3 separate regions of the Homo sapiens genome follow, and all the other regions are linked to region 2. Evidence: promoter capture Hi-C in human tissues and cell types (Jung and others, 2019). All regions are on one chromosome and are shown on one strand. The core of a region is centred on a gene start or on the middle of the fragment in contact, and the rest is flanking DNA. Distances in the headings are between cores, read along the strand shown. Region 1 has its middle 38 kb from the start of FHIP1A-DT. Region 2 holds the start of SH3D19 (SH3 domain containing 19). Region 3 overlaps SH3D19 (SH3 domain containing 19).

What was found. Contacts are between HindIII fragments. The study calls those that stand out against the background at their distance.
Region 1: a fragment that was not itself captured here is called in contact with the fragment with the promoter of SH3D19 in region 2 in 1 of the 25 tissues and cell types used here (psoas muscle).
Region 3: a contact is called between a fragment that was not itself captured here and the fragment with the promoter of SH3D19 in region 2, in 2 of the 25 tissues and cell types used here (neural progenitor cells and ovary).

What each region holds. Positions count from the first base shown.
Region 1 is chr4:151,369,780-151,372,479 of GRCh38, reverse strand. No RefSeq gene overlaps it. Among named protein-coding and RNA genes, the nearest start is that of FHIP1A-DT, 38 kb to the left of the region's middle. The HindIII fragment of the contact is 3,439 bases long and covers 1-2,700 here.
Region 2 is chr4:151,324,219-151,326,957 of GRCh38, reverse strand. SH3D19 (SH3 domain containing 19) reads left to right here and starts at 1,353. Exons shown (of 20, transcript NM_001378122.1): 1 at 1,353-1,717. The coding sequence starts at 1,606. The HindIII fragment of the contact is 31,894 bases long and covers 1-2,739 here.
Region 3 is chr4:151,289,951-151,292,650 of GRCh38, reverse strand. All of the region lies in intron 1 of SH3D19 (SH3 domain containing 19), which reads left to right. PRSS48 (serine protease 48) reads right to left here. Exons shown (of 5, transcript NM_183375.5): 5 at 789-1,533. The coding sequence ends at 1,198. Among named protein-coding and RNA genes, the nearest start is that of PRSS48, 14 kb to the right of the region's middle. The HindIII fragment of the contact is 9,272 bases long and covers 1-2,700 here.

The sequences.
Region 1 (2,700 bases), core at 25-2,524, 46 kb before region 2:
TCTATAACCTTTGCTCTCTTTGTATCTGCTACATTTTAAGCTTAAACTCTTAAGGTTAAGCTTTGTATCTGCTATATTATAACCTTGACCTCTTAAGGTTACCTGGACTTGTATTACTGTTTAACTGCTTTGCATGTGTATGCTTTATCTTCCTAACAACATTGTAGATTTCTAGAAAGTGATCAGAAAATATCTCTGGTTGGAAGTCACTAAACCTTTCATACCACATGAAAATATAAAGTGACACTCAAGAAAAATTAAAACCACAGTAAATGTTTAAAGGCCACCATTTTTTTATTTTTTGTTTTTTTAATACCATTAAAGTTTTAGCATCTATTTTTGATGTGCTTAAATGAAAACCTGATTCTAAATCCTGTATTTAATCTTTTTAAAAATATGTATAGTGTTGAGTAGCAAGATTATTTCTCCAAATTTCATGTAAAGGTTCATGTCTTAGTGATATAAATATAAGTGCCTGTGTATATGGCTGGAGCAGGAGCTTTGAGGCGTTTTAGAGAAAATGAATTCTGTGCTTGGTAGAAGCATGCCAAATTTAGATTAGACTCCACTGTCTGCACCCTTTCTCTCATTTCCACTTTTTTTTTTTTTTTTTTTGAGAAGGAGTCTTGCTCTGTCGCCTAGGCTGGAGTGCAGTGGCAGAATCTCGGCTCACTGCAACCTCTGCCTCCTGGGTTCAAGTGATTCTCCTGCCTCAGCCTCCTGAGTAGCTGGGATTACAGGCACACACTATCACGCCTGGCTAATTTTTGTATTTTTAGTAGAGGCAGGGTTTCACCATGTTGGCAAGGCTGATCTCGAACTCCTGACCTCAAGTGATCTGCCTGTCTCGGCCTCCCAAAGTGCTGGGATTACAGGCATGAGCCACTGAGCCCAGGCTCCACGTCATTTTTTGTTAGACATTTGGATGCATAATCTATTACACTAGGCTCTGAACATTAAGCCAAAATGGTACAGTCTGTGTTTCTGGGAATGTGTGCAATGTTAAAGAAACAGGCTCTAGTCCCAAACAGTCTGGGTTCAAATCTTGGCTCGGTCAGACACTTATTAGTTGTGTAACCTTGAACAAATTACTTTACTACTTAGTTTCTCATCTGTGAAATTGGATAGTACTGGCATCTACTTCCTTGGGTTGTTACGGGTAATTAATAGATAAAAAACCTAGAATAATGCCAAGGAAATAGTAAGCATTCCAACAGATGTTTTTTATTACTAAAATGTCCATTTTAATGTTTTAAGGGGTATGTTGTATGGTGTAGTGTAGGAGGACAAAGGAGCCTCTTAGTATAGAGAACATCATCTTACATGATAAATGTGAAATGATCAATAAGATAAATGCAGTGGGGTGTTTCCATACAATTGAAAACAATTCAATAGTTTTAGCTCAGTGGTTCTCACTTTAGTGTGCACCAGAATCACCTGGAGGGTTTGTAGAACCTTAGATTTCTGTGTTCTCCCCCATAAATTCTGATTCATTGGGTCAGGGACAGAGCCAAAGAATTTGTATTCTAACAAGTTCTAAGGGGATGCTGATGCTGCCAGTCAGGACCACATTTTGAGAATCACTTGTTTAGATCAGGGTTTCTCAACTTCGGTGTTACTGACATTTTGGACCACACCGTTCTTTGTTGCAGGGAGCTATCCTCTGCATTGTAGGATGTTAAGCAGTATCACTGGCCTCTCTACCCACTAGATGCCAATAGCACCTCCCTGCCCACCACCCACCGTGACAATCAAAAATATCTCCAGATATTGCCAAAGGTCCACTGGGGAGGCAAAACTGTTGGCCAGGTTCTGTGGCTCATGCCTGTAATCCAGCACTTTGGGAGGTTGAGGCAGGTGGATCACCTGAGGTCAGGAGTTCGAGACCAGCTTGGCTAACATGGTGAAACCTGTTTCTCTCTACTAAAAATACAAAATTAGCTGGGCATGGTGGCGGGTGCTATAATCCCAGCTACTCAGGAGGCTGAGGCAGGAGAATCAATTGAACCTAGGAGGTGGAGGTTGCAGTGAGCCAAGATAGTGCCATTGCACTCCAGCCTGGGTGACAGAGCAAGACTCCATTTCAAAAAAAAAAAACTGTCGAGAGCCACTGGCTTACAGGAATGAACTAGTAACATGAATCAATCTTTAAAAGTATAGTTTTAGGCCAGGTGCAGTGGCTCACGCATGTAATCCCAACACTTTGGGAGGCTGAGGCAGGAGGATTGCTTGAGCTCAGGAGTTCTAAACTAGTCTGGGCAACATAGCGAGACGTCATCTCTACTAAACATTTTAAAAATCAGTTGGGCATGGTAGTGCGTGCCTGTACTCCCAGCTACTAGGAAGGCTGAGGTGGGAGGATTGCTTGAGCCCGGGAAATCAAGAGATCAAGGCTGCAGAGGGCCATGATCGTGCCACTGCACTCCAGCCTGGGTGATAGAGCAAGATCCTGTCTTATACACACACACACACACACACACACACACACACACACACACACACAAAATATAGCTTTTAGTTTAAAAAGCAAGCTACAAAAAAAGAGATACAGACAGCATATATCCATTAATGTAAATTTTAGAAACACAAAAAGCAATGTACTTTTTATGAATAATATATATGTATTAAAATTATCAAAAATGTGGACTGGAAGGACACACAGCAAAACCATGAAACTGAAAGAGGTTGGAAAAGAAGAAA
Region 2 (2,739 bases), core at 104-2,603:
TAAGATGTGTATTGTGCAGGTACACACAACTTTGGTTACACGGTTCTTTCCAGCTTTGAAAAACTTTCTTAGGGGTAGCTCACACAGCTAAGTGCTTCAAATTACAGTTTCTGACTCCAGAGCCAGTGGTCTCTCCACTTCCCCTAGTTGCCTCTCTACAAATAATCACGTATGGGTCTCTTTAACACATTTCTTCCTGTTCTTCTAGGAATTGTAGCCATATCCTAGCCCTAAATGAACTGGAATACAGTGAGGCTTGATTTATTATTAAACATTTTTATTAGACTTTTTTTTTTTTTCGAGAAGGACTCTCGCTCTGTTGCCCAGGCTGGAGTGCAGTGGTGCGATCTCCGTTCACTGCAAGCTCTGCCTCCTGGGTTCAGGCCAGTCTCTTGCCTCAGCCTCCCGAGTAGCTGGGACTACAGGCGCCCGCCACCACGCCTGGCTATTTTTTTTTTTTTTTGTATTTTTAGTAAAGACGGGGTTTCACCGTGTTAGCCAGGATGGTCTCGATATCCTGACCTCGTGATCTGCCCGCCTCGACCTCCCAAAGGGCTGGGATTACAGGCATGAGCCACCGCTTCCAGTCTTACTAGACTATTTTTAAGAACAGTTTTAGGTTCACAGCAAAATTGAGCTAAAGGTACAGAGATTTCCCATGTACCCCCTGCTCCCACACATGCATAGCCTCCCCCATTATCAACATCCCCCACCAGAGTGCCACAGTTGCTACAATTGATGAACCCACATTGACACCTCATAATCACCCAAAGTCTATAGTTTACATTGCGGTTCACTCTTGGTTTTGTACATTCTTTGGGCTTGGACAAAGGCATCCGCTATTACAGAATCATACGCATAGTAGTTTCACTGCCCTAAAAATCCTCTGTGCTCCCGCAAGTCTAGGTTTTTAAGGGCGAAAAGAGAGGGAAAGAAAAAAGTGTGCATTGCAGAGGCTCGACCCAACTCCAAGCCAAGTTTGTTCCAAAGTTCAGCAGCTCCCAGCTGTCCCATCTCTCCCAGTTCGGCCCCGGTCGGGTTCCTCCTCTTTTTGTTTAAGTGTCAAACAAATGGGTTTCCTGTTGACACTGGAATATCGTGAAAAGGCAGGAAGAGGCCAGGCCACCTCCTCTTTCCCCTCTTCCTATCCCGTTTATTTATTTTGCACACGTTTGTTTGGGTCGAGCTGGTGTTTCCAGCGTGTGTGGCTGTGGGGCGGCCTTAGGGGCCGATAACCCCTCCCTGAGGAGGCGAGGCCAGCCCCGAACCCGCCCGATCCGCGGTGGAGCTCTACGGGGCGGGGAAGGCAAAGAGGAAGGGGGAAGAGAGCGGGAGTGGGAGTGGGAAAGGCCAGGGATTAAGAGGCCGCCGGGACGCCGCAAGGAGGCGGGGAATCGGCTCGGCCCGCGCCCTGCCGCTGCCCGGCCGGCTGCAGGTGGAGTTCGCGGAGGTGGCCATTTCCACAGCCGCCGCCGACGCCTCCTCTCCGGGAGCCGCCTTCCCCCCGGCCCGAGGGCGGTGGCGTGGGGCGCCGGGTGCAGGCGTTCTGGGGCGCCGGGGCCGCAGCTCGCTGGCCATCCCGCGGCTGCGCCCCGCGCCTCGCCCATGGCTGAGGGCCGGCGGCGGGAGGACGAGGAGGAAGAGCTACGCGAGCGCCGCGAACTTGGTGGCCAGCGCCGCGCCCGGGGCCGTGCGCTCTCGGGCCACTCGGCCGCAGGTGAGAGGCGCGGGGGACGGGGCGGCGGGGACCCAGAGCTGCGCGCTCTGGGGCCGCTCGGGTCCTGCCCCACACAGCGGCAGCTCCTTCACGCGCCGGGATGGGACCGGCTTCTTTAACTCTCAGAGGCCAGACTCGGGGAGGGTGGCATTTCCATCGCCATCCTCACTTTCCGGCCGAGCCCGAGGAAATTCAGACCCGTCTTTAACTGCTAGTGGTCGTACAGCTGAAACTCAAATTTTCCGTGCACACTAAATCCAGGAGCTGCTGGCTTGGGACTTGTGGCCTGGTTGATGACTTATCTCTGGATGAGTCAGAGGTCAATGGCCGTCTCGGTGGACAACGACACCTTCCGAGGGGTTTGCCTGCGCCGCCGCAGCCAGGTCAGAGCACGTGCTCATAACTGAGGCAAGTCCTGTTTCGGCGTCCCTTGCACTTCGGACCTGTGACCCCCCTCCCTCCCTCCCCCAGCCGCCGAGCTCACCAGTTTTCTGTAGGACTTGTTTTCGTTAGTTGTGAGACCCTCCCCCACGCAAAGAGAAGTCCAGAATATAGCATTCCAAAAGGCCATTCATTTGGGCTGAGAATCATTTTCGGGCCTGTAATTACTTTTATGATACTGTGTTTTGGGTACACAAAAGCGGCACGGATCAAATAGTTTGGCACATTAGTGAAAGAGTGAATAAGTGTAGATCCACACCCCTTCCCTCTTCCGGGCGGCTTTTCAATCAAACATAATAGAGAGGACATTCTTTGGCCTTTGGTTCCAACTGGGTAATCCGAGTTATCTGAAAACAAGAGGGAAGAACAAACCTAGGGGGACTGGCAACAAAAGGGAGATAGGGAAGTGAGAGAGTCGGAGGAGAACGATTCACTGAGAGCCTCATTATAAAGTGGAATATAGCGAATATTCCATGAAGTGGAGAAGCTTTTCTGTGTGACTCCCTTAACCACTAAGAGAAAGTTGGAAAAATAGAGAAGATATTGTATCTGTGCGGAACAAATGGAGGGTAGAAAGTAGG
Region 3 (2,700 bases), core at 75-2,574, 34 kb after region 2:
TGATTGTAATTGAGTTCAAAAGTTAGCTCTGAGTTTCTGGCAGCCTAGGTATAGAAGGGAATAGGATAGGTTGTGTGATTGTTTAACAAAGGAAGCATGGGATATAATGCTCTTTTCTATAATGTCCTTTGTTCCAAATATTTAAAGTGTTTTTTTATAGATGTGAAGTTAAACCACTTAGATAGGTCCAGATTGTTGAAACCCAAGACCTCAGCTCTTGAGATCATAGCATTAATCCATTGTTCGTAGTAGGTCACACTGGTATTTTAAAAAGTAAAAACTTAAGAAAAATATAGGGCTGAACTACATATATGCATTTCCTTCCTTCTTTTCTTTTCCTTTTTTTTTTTTAAAGACAGGGTCTTGCTCTGTTGCCCAGTCTGGAGTGCAGTGATGTGATCATAGCTCACTGCAGCCTCGAACTCCTGGTCTCAAGCTATCCTTCCACCACAGCTTCCCAAGTAGCTGAGACCACAGGCACATGCCACCATTCTTGGCTAATTTCTTATTTCTTTTGTAGAGACAGGGGCTGTGTTGCCCAGGCTGGTCTTCATCCCCTGGCCACAAGTGATCCTTGGCCTCCCAAAGTGTTGGGATTACAGGTGTGAGCCAACATGCCTGACCCATGTTTGCATCTCTTTTTTTTTCTTCTTTTTTTACTGCTCCTTATGGAACAGGGCTAGCTAATCTGTAGGCAGTGTGCTTGGAATTGGCTTTATATGAATTTTTTATTAGCCCTCTTGTTACAGTTGAGGAGTAAAGGGAGGGTTAGAAGGGAAGTTAAAGATAATAGAGAAGGTGAGAAATAATAGACTAAAATCCCATGATGCAACCCATGGGCACGAGGTAGACCCTTATTATATTTTCCTGTGTCATCACAGATACTTGCCTGCCTCTGTAGTAGCTATTTAATTTGTGTCTACAAATACTTATTCATAGAGGACATCTTCCTGCCTTGGAAGACACATTAGTCTTATAGCTATTTAATTTGTGTCTACAAATGCTTATTCATAGAGGACATCCTTCCTGTCTTGGAAGATGCATTAGTCAAGGACAAAGAATGTACAGAAGTGACAGTTTTATTTCTTAACTCTTCACATTCCAACCCCAAAACTTCCAAAATCAAAAACCTTAAAAACAAAATCATTTCAAATTGTAAATAAAGTCACCCAGGGTTAGCAGTGGCTCTCCTGTGAGTTATCTGCCCCTGGGACTAAATCTCCATGCATTCTCTTCCCAGCCCTGTATGCAAGCAACAGCTTCAGCTACAGTGCCTACTCTGTGTATAGTGTTAGGTCCAAAGGCACAGGAGGGACGCAGGAGAGCCAGAGAGAGTAGGACAATAGGGAACAAGAAGTCAGAGAAGTCTAGATTGTTGGCTCTTGAAATAGTGGCATTAATCCATTTTTGGTAGTAGATTACATTGGTGTAGACTCCAGGAAGAGATTTACCACATTCTAATCCCCAGCTTACTACTCCTGTCTGGATCCATACACCATCAATGTGACACGACAGAGGCCCTCCAGAATCACCCTAAGGAAGAAATGAAAGGTAATGAGCATAGTGAAAAGAGGCATAAAGAAGAGAGTAGTAATAAGGGGTGGAGAATTCTTTAAAACTGGGCCATGAGACCCATGGAGCTGTGGAACCCTGCAGGGGGCTGGACTAATCACTGCTTTAGGGAGATATCACAGGAATTTTAGAATCATAGAATTGAAATTGTCAGAGACCTTAGTGAAATATATTAGTAATTTCAAAATATTTGTCTGTGATAAAAAGAGAAATAAAACTAATGAGATGATTTTTTCACTAAAGATAAATTTATTCAAATGAATGAACTGCCTTAATTTCCTGTTCTTACTGCTCTTGTTTAGTGTTAAGTAATCCATTCTTACCTAAAATGATAGTGATAGTTGTTGGTAGTAGTCTTCTAGTCTTGTTCTCTTTCTTTTTTGTAACAGCTTTACTGTCATATAATTCACATACTACACAATTCAGTGGTTTTTAGTATATTTACAGTGTTGTACAACCATCACCACAACCCATTTTAGAACATTTTTATCACCCTAAAAAGAAACCTCATACCCATTTGTAATTATCCCCATTTCTTCCCAACCCTCCCAGCTAGGCCAACCAGTAGTCCACTCTCTGCCTCTATGGATTTGCCTATTTTAGACATTTCATATAAATGGAATCATGTAATATCTGACCTTTTGTGTCTGGCATGTTTCAGTTAGCACATTCTTTTCAAGGTTCCTTCATGTTGTATCAGTACTCCACTCCTTTTAGGGCTGAATAATATTCCATTGTATGGATGTACCACTTGGTGTTTCTGCATTCATCACCTAATGGACATTGTGATTGCTTCCATTATTTGGGCTATTATATTATAAATAATGCTTCTATGGCCCAGCATGATGGTTCGTGTCTGTAATCCTAGTGCCTTGAGAGGCCAAGGCAGGAGGATCAGGCCAGGCATTTGAGACCAACCTGGGCAACCTAGTGGAACCCTGTCTCTTCAAAACAAATAAATAAGTAAATAGCTGCTATGGTGGCATATGCCTGTCATCCCAACCACTCGGGAAGCTGAGGCAGAAGTATTGCTTGAGCCATGTTTACAATGAACTATGATCCTACCACTGCACTTCAACCTGGGTGACAGAGCAAGACCCTGTTTCTAAAATAATAATCATGCTGCTG